Linked DNA regions of Homo sapiens: regions 2 and 3 are each linked to region 1. Evidence: promoter capture Hi-C in human tissues and cell types (Jung and others, 2019). All regions are on one chromosome and are shown on one strand. The core of a region is centred on a gene start or on the middle of the fragment in contact, and the rest is flanking DNA. Distances in the headings are between cores, read along the strand shown.

Region 1 (3,623 bases), core at 1-2,500:
CCTCACCCTCCCCAAAGCTCTGGTGACACCTGCCAGGTTTCCTCCAGGCCACAGCTCGGCAGCCCGATCTTAGAACAGAACGTGGCACGCAGGGCAGGTCTGGCTGAGGGCCCAGCATTGTCAGCGGGGTTGGAGGTCTTCCCGGGCCTCGAAGGGGAGACGTAGGCTTCTCAGGGCAGCCCAGGACGCGTCCTCACGAACCACAGCGAAATTACAGCAGGTATCTCGCGGATAGGAGTCTGCATCATTCCGTCTCCATGCCGTGGTTTCTGAAATTATGCAACTATCTCGGCATTCCAGAGGGCTCAGAGTAGCCACGCGCAGAGGCCCTCCCCATGGGGTGGATGGAAGCGTCCACTCGCGGCGCGAGGAATATCCCTGGGCCCCTCGGGAGAGTCTGCAGGGGCAGCCCCTGGGTGAGCAGGCCCAGTGCGGCCTCTCCCTGAAGGGACTTTCGGGCCCTCCCGGGTCGGGGCTTCACCGGTAGCAGGCAGGGCTTTGATATTAATGCTTAAAGGGAAAGCAGAGCTGAGCTGTCAGGACGTTGGTTAGCTACAAACCCTACTCTTGTTAAAAGAGAAATGGGGTCGGGGAAGGGGTTCTCCAGCCCTGAACTTCCCGGGCCGGGCAGGACGCGGTCCCTCCAGGAGTCGGGGCTCCCCCGCCTGGGGACGCACTGGGGCAGGCGCGCTTCTCCTCTCGGGGTCCCATGTGCCGCCGGCTCTCGGACGGTAAATCAGGGCTCGGGTGGGGGCGATGGGGGGCCCGCGGCCTCGGTGCCCCTGGCCAGCCTCGGAGGCGCACGGGCCAGGCCGCGGGGCGAGAAGCGAGCGCGGGAGGGCGGCAGCTGGCGGAGCGGGAAGGGAGCGGGGCGGCTGCGGCTGCGGCGCGGAGGAGCGCCATTTACGTTCGGGCCCGCGCCAGGCGCTGACGTGGGCGGCCCTGTCTCGGCTTCCGGGCCCGCAGGGTCCTCGGGGCGGACGGCGCTCCCGCCAGCGGCGCTGAGTCCGGCCCGACCCTGCCCGACTTCCTCGGGGACAGGCGGTTTAGAACGTGCGGAACACCAGGCCCGGGGCCTCCGCCGGGCTGCAGCCCCGCGAGCTTCCCGCCAGGCTCCCGCCCCGCCCCGCCCCGCAGCCGCGTCCCGGCCGGGCGGGCCCTGAGCCGCCCGCGTGAGTCCGTGCGCCGCCCGCGCTGGGAACCAGGAGACCAACCGCGAGGCCCCGCCCGCGCGCGCCGCCGTGTCCCCGCCCGCGCGGTCGTCGGAGCGCGGCTCAGCGGCGCGGCGGAGACTCGGCACGGCGGCGGCCAGGCGCAGGCGGGCGGGCGGAGCAGCGGACGGCGCCGAGGCCGCCCCACGCGCCGGGCTCGCGGCGGCGCAGCGCGCCGGAGTGGTCGGGGCCCGCGGCCGCTCGCGCCTCTCGATGGGCAGCTCGCACTTGCTCAACAAGGGCCTGCCGCTTGGTAAGGCCGCGCGCGCGCGCGTTTCCGGCCGCGGGCGGGGGCGGGGCGGGGCGGGTGCCGCGCGGGCGGGGGGCGCGGGGGCGGACCGAGCGCGCGCCCGCGGGCCGCCGGCTTTGTGTGCGAGTGCGCGTGCGCGCCGGCGTCCGCGCGTGGCCGCGGTCGGGGGCGGGACCGCGGGAAGGGTCTTGCGCATGCGCGGGCCGCTGCGTGTGCGCGAGCGCCGCAGTCTGCTCTCCCCGCCCGCGGCCCGTGCAGGTGACACAAAAGGGCCTGTGGGCCTCTGGGCTGCCCCGCCGGACCCCCAGCTCCACCGACCCCAGCCCCGTCGGACCCGGGACGGCACCCCGGGTCCCGATCCCCGGCCGCTACCCCGTCCCCGGTCATGACCCCGTGGCTGGGCCTGCGGGGCCGGGATGGGGCGGGAGCCGTGCGCAGCTCGGGGTGTCCTGGGGCGCGCGCTCCCGGGCCACTCGCGGGAGCGCGCCTCCCGCGGGGAGGCCGCCGGCGACCGTGGCCGCGCGCTGTGGGGGAAGGGGACGGGGCGCGGGTGCCGGGTATGACCGTGGAGGAGGCCGCTGCCCTCAGACCGGGCCCAAAGCGCAGCCCCCGGCGGTGACGCGGGAGGGCCCGGGGTCTCCGTTCCCGCGAACTCCGCGAGGTCCCGGACCGGCCCAGCGCCCCCACCTGCCCTTGCCTGGGCCCGCCCAGGTCCCGGGGCGCCTTCCTCGCGGGCTGCGGCCGCGGAAGCAGGGAGCACGGGCGGGCGCCGGGCTTGCCACCATCGCCATCTTGCAGCGCCCGCGTCCTGGGCCGGCCCGAGCCGCTGCGCGGAGCCTCTCTTTCCCTCGACCCGGCTGCAAAGGCAGAGTCCGTGCGCCTGAGCCCCGGGCCGAGACTGGAGCGTTCTCTGGCGGCCTCCAAGGGCGCCGGTGTCTGGAAGCCCGGCCTGGGCCAGATCCCTTTTGCTGTCGTCTCCGTGATTGCCGGGACAGAATTCCCTTCCAGTGGGGAAAAGGGAAGGCGGTCGCGCCCTTCCCGGTGCCCTGAGTGGGGAGGTGAAACCCTGAGAGTTGGGGCAAGAGGGCCTGGAGCTAGGGCCGAGGCGGCGGGTGCGCAGGGTGTTCCGTTGAGCCCGAGCCCCCCCCCCCTCCCCGGCCTCTCCACCGTTTCTGTAGGAGCGCGGCAGGGAGCACACGTCCCTCGGGAAGAAAACGGCGCTGGCGGCTGGGCCCGCACCGCGGCCGTCCTCGCTGAGCTCCTAGCGCGTGGCCTTTGCGCGTCTGTGTACCCGTCTGCAGCTTGGGGCAGGGTTGGGGGAGAACCGTGGGGTAACTATTTGCCGTTGCAGCTGAGGATGACAGCTGCGGTTTGGGGGTCCCCCTTTCTGTGTCCTGGAACTTTGTAGGGCGTGGCTCTGCCCTGGGCCTCAGCACCCGGCCTCCCAGGTCTCCCCTGCCTGCCCGGGCCTGGCCACCTCCCTCTGGGGTCTGGGTTTGGCTCCTGGTTGGGGCTGTCGGCTCCGCAGACGCCTTTTGCTCTCTGTGATTCTGTTGCCCATCTTTGAGCACCTGCTTCCATACAGGCGTCCTCTGCAGAGCTCTGGGAGGGACACGCACTGGGGGTGGCATCTGGTCACTCCTGGGGGTGCCTCGTCCGCCTGCCCGGCCATTTTTGGGGTGTCTGCCATGTCCCCAACATGCACTTCTTCCTGTCAGCCTTGACCAGGGCAGCTGTTAGTTCTGAGAGGTGGGCGTGTGGTTGGGGATGTCAGCGAGTAGGATCTTCCCTTTTACTCGCTTGTCATTAACCTGAGAACGTGGCAGTGGGGGAGGAGAGGCTTGGCCCGGGGTGCACAGGACTGTGGGCTGGTCCTGTCCCTCTGATGAGTGGGACGAGCCTTGGTCCAGTCCTGTGGGCTTGGCGCAGAGCCGGCCCCCTGCCATGTCCTGGTGGGATTGGAAGTGCTGGCTCGTCCTGTCTGCCTCCCCCAAGGGCTGGGAGCCCCCCACTCTTTGGACATTTGTAGTGTAAGCAGACAGCAACTGTTAACCATCATTCTGTTAATAAATTTTTTCTGGAGGAACCCTGGACAGAAGTAGTCATGCTCTCCAGGAAACGGGCCCCAGGCTCGAGAGGCCCAGTCTCTTCCCTCGGGGCTT
Region 2 (3,638 bases), core at 62-2,561, 670 kb before region 1:
GCACTCTTTTTCTGACCTAGTTTTTAAAATAAAATGTTAGAGAATGAAAGTTAGAATCTGGGATGAAACTAGTCAAATCTACTGCTATTTTGCAGTTGTTTCCCTTGGTGTTGTCTGAGCCTGTTAACCTCAAAACAAATTCTATACTTCTTATCCCTTCCATGCCACATGCCAAAGAGGGAAACTAATTAACTTACAAGAGACTCAGATAAGGTTCAAAATTGAATGGGAAAGAAAGCCAACCAGGCCAGGCGCAGTCCCTCACGCCTGTAATCCCACCACTTTGGGAGGCCGAGGCAGGGAGATTGAGCTCAGGATTTCGAGACCAGCCTGGGCAACATGGCAAAAGCCCATCTCTACGAAAAATGCAAAAATTAGCCGGGTGTGGTGGTGTGCACCTGTAGTCCCAGCTACTCTGGAGGCTGAGGTGAGAGGATGGCGTGAGCCTGGGAGGCACATGTTGCAGTGAGCCAAGATCATACCACTGCTCTCCAGCCTGGGTGACAGAGCTAGACCCTGTCTCAAAAACAAAAAAAGAAAGGAAAAAAAAGAAAAAGAAAAAAGCTAGCTAGCTGACTAAATGCACTCCTTTATTCCCTCTTAAAAAGATACCAAATAAGACAAGAGGACATGTGCAAGAAAGGAGTGAGAGAGGCAGTGAAGGAGGCAGTATACGGACATCACACAACCTGGGTTCAAATCCCAGCCCTGCTACCTACCAGCTAGCTACCCCCCTATCTCACAGTGCTAGAGTGACAGGAGCATCAGTGGCCTCAGAGAGCAGCTCAGACCACAGAGTAACCCCACAGATGCCCACTAGTCTTACTCTTAGCTGAGAGGAAGAAGCCACGTCCCACAGTGCAGCCAGGGGGATGAGGAAAGAAAGAGACGGGCCCAAAATAAAAGAAAGGAGGTACCAGATTCCACTGAAGTCAAATGAGAAGGTGAATACAGGTAAGCAGGTTAAAAGGTCAGATCTCTGTGCCAGGTGAGAGGAGGGAGGGGGATCTCCCTGGCACAGGGTGGGGGCAGTTACCACTCCCTGTCCCCTCATGCAGAACACTGGCCCAGATGAATCAAAGGATATTTCCTGAAGACCTGAAGTGCTCCAGAGGAAAAACCTCTCCAGTGAGTCTTCTGGAGATTCCCCCAATTAAGTGGTCAATGGCCAATCAGACCCTCTAATGCAAAGGAGGGTGGATAACCAAGCCTCCCCACCCATGGTTGCAGGCAGCTCTAAGTGTCGTGCTCTTAAACACGAGCCCAGCACCAAGGAACCCCTGGACCCAGGGAAGCATCCAGTATGAATGAATCCAAAACACACAGAAATGAATGGCCCTCTGCAGGGCCACAGACATAAGGCAAGGGAAGAGAAGATACCCAACAGAGAAACCCTGTGTGCTATGAAAAGAGAACACAGAAAAACAAAGAGATATTTGAAATTCTAAAATACAACTATGAAAATAAAATTCAGGCCGGGTGCAGTGGCTCAAGCCTGTAATCCCAGCACTTTGGGAGGCCGAGGCAGGCGGACCACGAGGTCAGGAAATCGAGACCATCCTGGCTAACACGGTGAAATCCCATTTCTACTAAATATACAAAAATTAGCCAGGCATGGTGGTGGGCGCCTGTAGCCTCAGCTACACAGGAGGCTGAGGCAGGAGAATGGTGTGAACCCAGGAGGCGGAGCTTGCAGTGAGCCGAGACTGCGCCACTGCACTCCAGCCTGGGCAACAGAGCCAGACTCCGTCTCAAAAAAAAAAAAAAAAAAAAAAGAGAAAAAAAGAAAAAATTCAACAAGAAAGCTTGGAAGATAAGAAATCTCCCAGAAAGAAGAAAAAAATTAAGATGAAAAATACCTATTTCCATAGCAACCTGTAAGATCAATCTAGGAGGTTTGATACCCAAATAATAGGCTTTCTGGAGAAACAGAGAAGCTCCAAGAATAAACCCAAAATCAAGTCTCCAACTAAAACAGTCCTAAGTGTCCCACTGCAACATCCACAGCAGGGCACACCCTGCTGAAATTCAAGCTGCTGGGGGTTGGGTGAAAGGCCAGCCTCCAAGTTAATGGAACAAGAAATAGAATAGCAAGGTATGTGAAGAATAGCAAATTATGTGAAGAATGGCCAAAAACTCTGGATGCTAGAAGGAAATGGAGTAATACCTTCAAAATTCCTAGGGGAATTCTTCTCAACATAAAATTCTACACCCAGTCAAACCATCAATCAAGTGTGAAGATAGAAAAGTAGCATACTCTGGGCCAGGCACAGTGGCTCACGCCTGTAATCCCAGCACTTCGGGAGGCCAAGGTGGGCAGATCACCTCAGATCAAGAGTTCGAGACCAGCCTGGCCAACATGGTGAAGCCCTGTCTCTACTAAAACACAAAAAATTAGTCAGGCATGGTGGCGTGTGCCCGTAGTCCCAGCTACTCAGGAGGCTGAGGCGGGAGAATCACTTGAACCCAGGAGGTGGAGACTGCAATAAGCCAAGATCGTGCCACCGCACTCCAGCCTGGCAACAGAGCAAGGCTCCATCTCAAAAAAAAAGTAGCATACTCTGGGCTGGGTGCAGTGGCTCACACATGTAATCTCAGCACTTTAGGAGGCCAAGGCGGGTAGAATACTTGAGGTCAGAAGTTCGAGACCAGCCTGGCCGACATAGCAAAACCCCATCTCTACTAAAAATACAAAAATGAGCTGGGCACGGTGGCACACACCTGTAGTCCCAGCTACTCGGGAGGCTGAGGCACGAGAATCACTTGAACCCAAGTGGCAGAGGTTGCAGCAAGCTGAGATCCCGCCACTGAACTCTAGCCTGGGCGACAAAGCAAGACTCCACCTCACAAAAACAAAAGTAGCATACTCTGAACTGCAAGGACTCAAATTTACTTCCCATACAAACTGTCTTAAGATACCAAAAATAGCCTCCAGGAAAAAAGAAAACTTAACCAAGAAAGAACACAGCATAGAACTGTAGGGATCAGCCCTACAGGGCCTGTGGGTTTTTCTCCTCGTGTGTGGAGACGAGAGATGGTAGAAATAAAGACACAAGACAAAGAGATTGAAGAAAAGACAGCTGGGCACAGGGGACACCACTACCACCAAGATGCGGAGACTGGTAGTGGCCCTGAATGTCTGGCTGCGCTGTTATTTATTGTATACAAGGCAAGGGGGCAGGGTAAGGAGTGTGAGTCATCTCCAATGATAGGTAAGGTCAAGCGAGTCATGTGTCCACCAGACAGGGGGCCCTTCCCTGTTTGGTAGCCGAGGCAGAGAGAGAGAGGGGACAGCTTACATTATTTCTTCTATGCATTTCTCAGAGAGATCAAAGACTTTAATATTCTCACCAATTCTGCTATTGCTATCTAGAAGGCGGAGCCAGATGTACAGGGCGGAACATGAAAGTGGACCAGGAGCGTGACCGCTGAAGCACAGCATCACAGGGAGACGGTTAGGCCTCTGGATGGCTGCGGGTGGGCTTGACTGATGTCAGGCCTTCCACAAGAGGTGGTGGAGCAGAGTCTTCTCTAACTCCCCCACGGAAAGGGAGACTCCCTTTCCTGGTTTGCAAAGTAACGGGTGCCTTCTCAGGCACTGGCGCTACCGCTAGACCAAGGTCGGCTAAGTAACAGGT
Region 3 (3,954 bases), core at 1,133-3,632, 910 kb after region 1:
CACTTTGTGTATAACATCTAGTAATTCTTGACAGCGTGTGGAAAATATAACAGCAAAATCATCTACAATCCTAAAATACTGTCCAAAATAATAGAACAGCAAGAAAATGTGTTGTTAGAGAATTAAACAAAATGTGGTGTGCATTACAGGCAGTCTACTAAGAGACTGCCAAAACAAAGAAAGTCACCATAATTAGCTCTCAAGTAGAAGACTTGACAGTACCATGTATCATACATAGTTTATTACACTTTCACCTAGTAATTTGGGAGGTCATCCGGGTTTCCTAATTGGTAATATTCAAAGGGAAAATAAACTTCCCACAGCTTCAGGACAGGAGGTAGATTTGATATGTGAAGGCAGGTACCTGCTGAAGGCAGCCTCCTACTCTGCTACAGAAATTGCGGAATAGGTTATATATTCTTGCTATGCACATTTCAAAGCAATAGTTTCCATGTCCTAAAGACAATTTTGAGTCAAAAAAGACAAATCACCTAGTTAACAGATTAAAATGAGTTATATATATTTCAAAGAAGCAGAGAAAATATTTAAATATAAAAGTTTTCAAACTAAATGCTTTAAGGGAGAAGAGTAAAAATTCTTTCCTCATTCTAAAGAGAAAGCATTAAGCCTCTTCTGATTTGTATTTGGTCCTACAACAGGCAGGTCTAAAGGCATGGTCTTGAACTCACTAACGTTGAATTCTTGTAGCACATGAGGGATGCACTTGAGCAAACTGTGTGCACAGGAAAGAGGATTTGTGGGGAAGAAAAGAGCAGAAGAAAGGTGCTATCAAGAGCCTTGAGTGGGGGCAAGGCAGGATTGACGAAAGGACTGGTTTGTGCTACAAGTTCAGGCCCAGGCAGGGCTAAGCTCTAACTGATTCCTGAGCCCATAAAGGCAGAGGAGATTAGGATCAGGTGGTCCAAAAGCCTGGGTGGGTGAAGAAAACAGATTCCTGCTACAGATCTGGGGTTAAAATGAACCAGGAGTCTTCTGGGCACTGTGTGTGTTCTTGGGAGAAAAACCTAGGAGCAAAGCTGCCATGGGCACAATTCCTGAGGGTAGAACCCTGTCCTGGGACAAGTGTGGCCGTGCGAATGCCCAATGGGCGGGCTCAGGAGTGGGTTAGCATTGGGTGGGGGCTGGCAGCAGGGTGCAGGGAAGGGATGTTTCTCAGAACTCCTTTCCTCCAAGTTCTCAGCGCCCTCTCTCCCCGGGAGGAGACCTGGAGGAACAGAACAGTGCGCAGCAGGACAGTGCATGTGCAGAACCCGGCTGGTCTCCCGCGGACACCTGCGACTCCCTCCAGCCCAGGCTCAGCCATGTCTTTCTTCTGACAGGAAACGTGAGGAGTTTGCTCAACACCAGTCAATGCTCCGACCCCAACGGGCTGTCCAACAACTCACTAACGACACCACCCGGAGTCAGCACAGACCCCACAAGCTCAGCGCTCTTCCCGCAGCTGCCCCCCTGCAGACGCCAGTCCCTGCCTCTGGACACCCGTCTTCATTTCTGAACACCTGTCTACAAACCAGGGGCCCACACCCTCCTCAAGTTCAATAATATGACAGAACTACTCACAGAACTCAGCGAAGCGCTGTGCGCGCCCACACTAGCGTATTCTAAAAGATGCCACTCAGGAACAGCCACGCGGAGGAGGCGCACAGGGCAAGGAGACTGGTGGGCAAGTTGGAGCGGGCGGGTGATTTGCTTCGCTTCCTCACACACCTCACAAAAGCTTTTCCTTCAAGACCCGCTGGCAGCCCCCAAACCACGAGCCACGGCCGGCGCTGTCCCATTAATGAGTCCCCATTTGCTCACATGAACTCTGTTTTGATGGGGCCTCGATCTCATTCCGAACAGGGTAAAGCAGGGACGGGATCCCCAGACCACAGCTTCTCCCACAGCTCCTCCCACGCCGGCATCGCGCACGCCGCGCGGGCGGCTTCCAGATAAGCTACTCCTCACCCCACAGCCTGGGGAAGGTGCGGGGCTGCGGGCGCAGAGCTGCACAAGGAGGGCTGCAGGCTGGGCCAGAGCCGCTGTGCGGGGACCGACAGGAGCCCAGGTCCCTCACCGGAGGGTACTGAGGCCCCAGGGCTGAGCGGCGGCAGCGGGGACTCCGTTCGCAGACTCGGTCCCGCCGCCATTTCCCGCCAGCTCCGATGAGACCTCCTCAGCCTTGGGACGCCCTGCCCCGCACACTCACCATTTCCCCACTTCTGAAGTATTCGGGAGTCTTAGCTACCAATCATCCAATACCCGCAGGTCACAGAGCGACGGAGGCTGAGCTGTGGCCGAATCACCAAGGCCTCCCACAACTGAGAACGCAGAGAGATGAAGCCCCTAACCCGCGGTCTGGTAGTAGCCAGACGCAAAGACCCGCGCCACATCCCGGAAGCCACCGCCTCCTCTCTGGCTGCGTGCCTGATTGGGCAGTTTTCACTCCAGTGCGCTGATTGGATACGGCTCCAATCTCCCCGCCATCAGACCTTGAGTGACAGAAGTTGCAACCACATACTCCACGGAATGTGGCGAGAGTGACAGCCGGGGGGCCTCCAGGCAGTTTCAGGCGGGGCTTTCTCTTCGTGCTTGGCCTGGCACAGCCCAGGGGTCATTTTTTAACCTTGTGATGTGTAAGGTGACGTCCATTTAGAAATTATACACGCACGCACACACACAGACATATACGCGCGCGCGCACACACAGACGCGCGCACGTACGCAGTCTCACATAAACATACAAAAGTCACAGACACACACACACACACACGCACGCACCCACGCACGCACAGCCCATCCTTCCTCCAAGGCTCGCGAATCATCTCTCCACAAATCCTGCCTTCGGGGCCGCAGCCTGCAGGCCGACCTCAGTCCGTCCTCACAGAGCCTAGTTGGGTGCACAGCTCTCCCTGACGCGCGAGGAGCAGGTTCACGGGAGTCGGTCGCGCATCCCCAGCGCCCTGCGGGCCTCGCACCGGCTGTGGCGGTGACCCCGGTGAGGAGGGCTTTGGTGCGGGTCACCGTTGCTGAGGACACCCTCCTCCCCCGGAAGCGCGGTCCTGGGGGTCTGGGGGGCGGGTCCCTGACCGCTGTAAACAATAGGTCGGTGGTGTCCACGCAGCAGGCAGCAAATTCTCAGGAAGTGAGCGTCCCGTCTTTGGCTTCACCTTCGTGTCTGTAGAATGGGGGTGAGGGGACTCAGGACTCGGAGCGCTGTCGGGCGGGGCGAGGTGGGCTGAGAGTGTGTCTCCCTCCCCAAGCTCACCCGGAGCTGTGCGGGGCGGGACCGCCCCAGGACCCTCGGTTCCCAGGAGCTCCTGGGGGCCCCGCCGCCCCCACCCCAGGCCGCGCTGCGCAGCCCCAGTCCCCGCCGGCCCCACCGCGCGGTCGCTTTGAGGTCGGCCGGGGTCTGCCCGGCGATGGCGACGCTGCAGCCGCTGGAGCCGGGGCCACCGGGGATCTCGGCGGGACCTGGCGGCAGCGAGGACGCGGACCCTGGAGAGATGGGAGGGGCGCGCCCCGAGCCCGAGCCCCACCCGGACCCGGCTGCCGTCGGCCTAGCCAGGGCCGGGGCGGACACCGTCGAGGACGAAGCCGGGCCCGCGCCCCTGGGCGACCCGTTGAGCCGCGGAGCCCCGCGGGGTGGAGCCGGGCCAGGCCCATCCGCTCCGGGCGCGGGCAGCTGGCGTCGCGGGTGGGTCAGAACCCAGGACACGCCCAGGAGTCCGACCTCATGGCGCTGCAGGGCCTGGGGAGTGGGGGCTGGGGACAGCGCCAGGGCCAACCCGACGCCAGCACCCCCGGCAGACCCCAGGAGCCGCCTGTGAAGAGACTGGATAGGTGCATTAAGCGATCAGAAAAGTCACTGGCTGGCCCTGTTGATGAGCAGAACGCTTTCAGAGAAGTGTATGCTCACGCAGTGCTTGGACAGCATTCGCGTAGTTTGACACTT

Evidence for each region. The method cuts DNA at HindIII sites, captures the fragments that hold promoters and counts their contacts. A contact is called where the count stands out against the background at its distance.
Region 2: a contact is called between a fragment that was not itself captured here and the fragment with the promoter of CTBP1 in region 1, in 1 of the 25 tissues and cell types used here (dorsolateral prefrontal cortex).
Region 3: a contact is called between the fragment with the promoter of ZNF141 here and the fragment with the promoter of CTBP1 in region 1, in 1 of the 25 tissues and cell types used here (lymphoblastoid cells).

The regions. Positions count from the first base shown.
Region 1 is chr4:1,246,757-1,250,379 of GRCh38, reverse strand. It overlaps CTBP1 (C-terminal binding protein 1), which reads left to right and starts at 1,250. Exons shown (of 10, transcript NM_001012614.2): 1 at 1,250-1,464. It overlaps CTBP1-DT (CTBP1 divergent transcript), which reads right to left and starts at 940. Exons shown (of 2, transcript NR_033339.1): 1 at 908-940; 2 at 1-269. RefSeq lists enhancers at 1-61, 122-171 and silencers at 542-1,471, 1,642-2,361. The HindIII fragment of the contact is 11,440 bases long and covers 1-3,623 here.
Region 2 is chr4:1,913,249-1,916,886 of GRCh38, reverse strand. It overlaps NSD2 (nuclear receptor binding SET domain protein 2), which reads right to left. Exons shown (of 22, transcript NM_001042424.3): 4 at 1-16. Among named protein-coding and RNA genes, the nearest start is that of NSD2, 44 kb to the right of the region's middle. The HindIII fragment of the contact is 3,229 bases long and covers 1-2,925 here.
Region 3 is chr4:336,242-340,195 of GRCh38, reverse strand. It overlaps ZNF141 (zinc finger protein 141), which reads right to left and starts at 2,382. Exons shown (of 4, transcript NM_003441.4): 1 at 2,210-2,382. The coding sequence starts at 2,212. RefSeq lists enhancers at 2,533-2,632, 1,677-2,637, 2,743-3,258 and silencers at 3,273-3,382, 3,613-3,672. The HindIII fragment of the contact is 20,671 bases long and covers 470-3,954 here.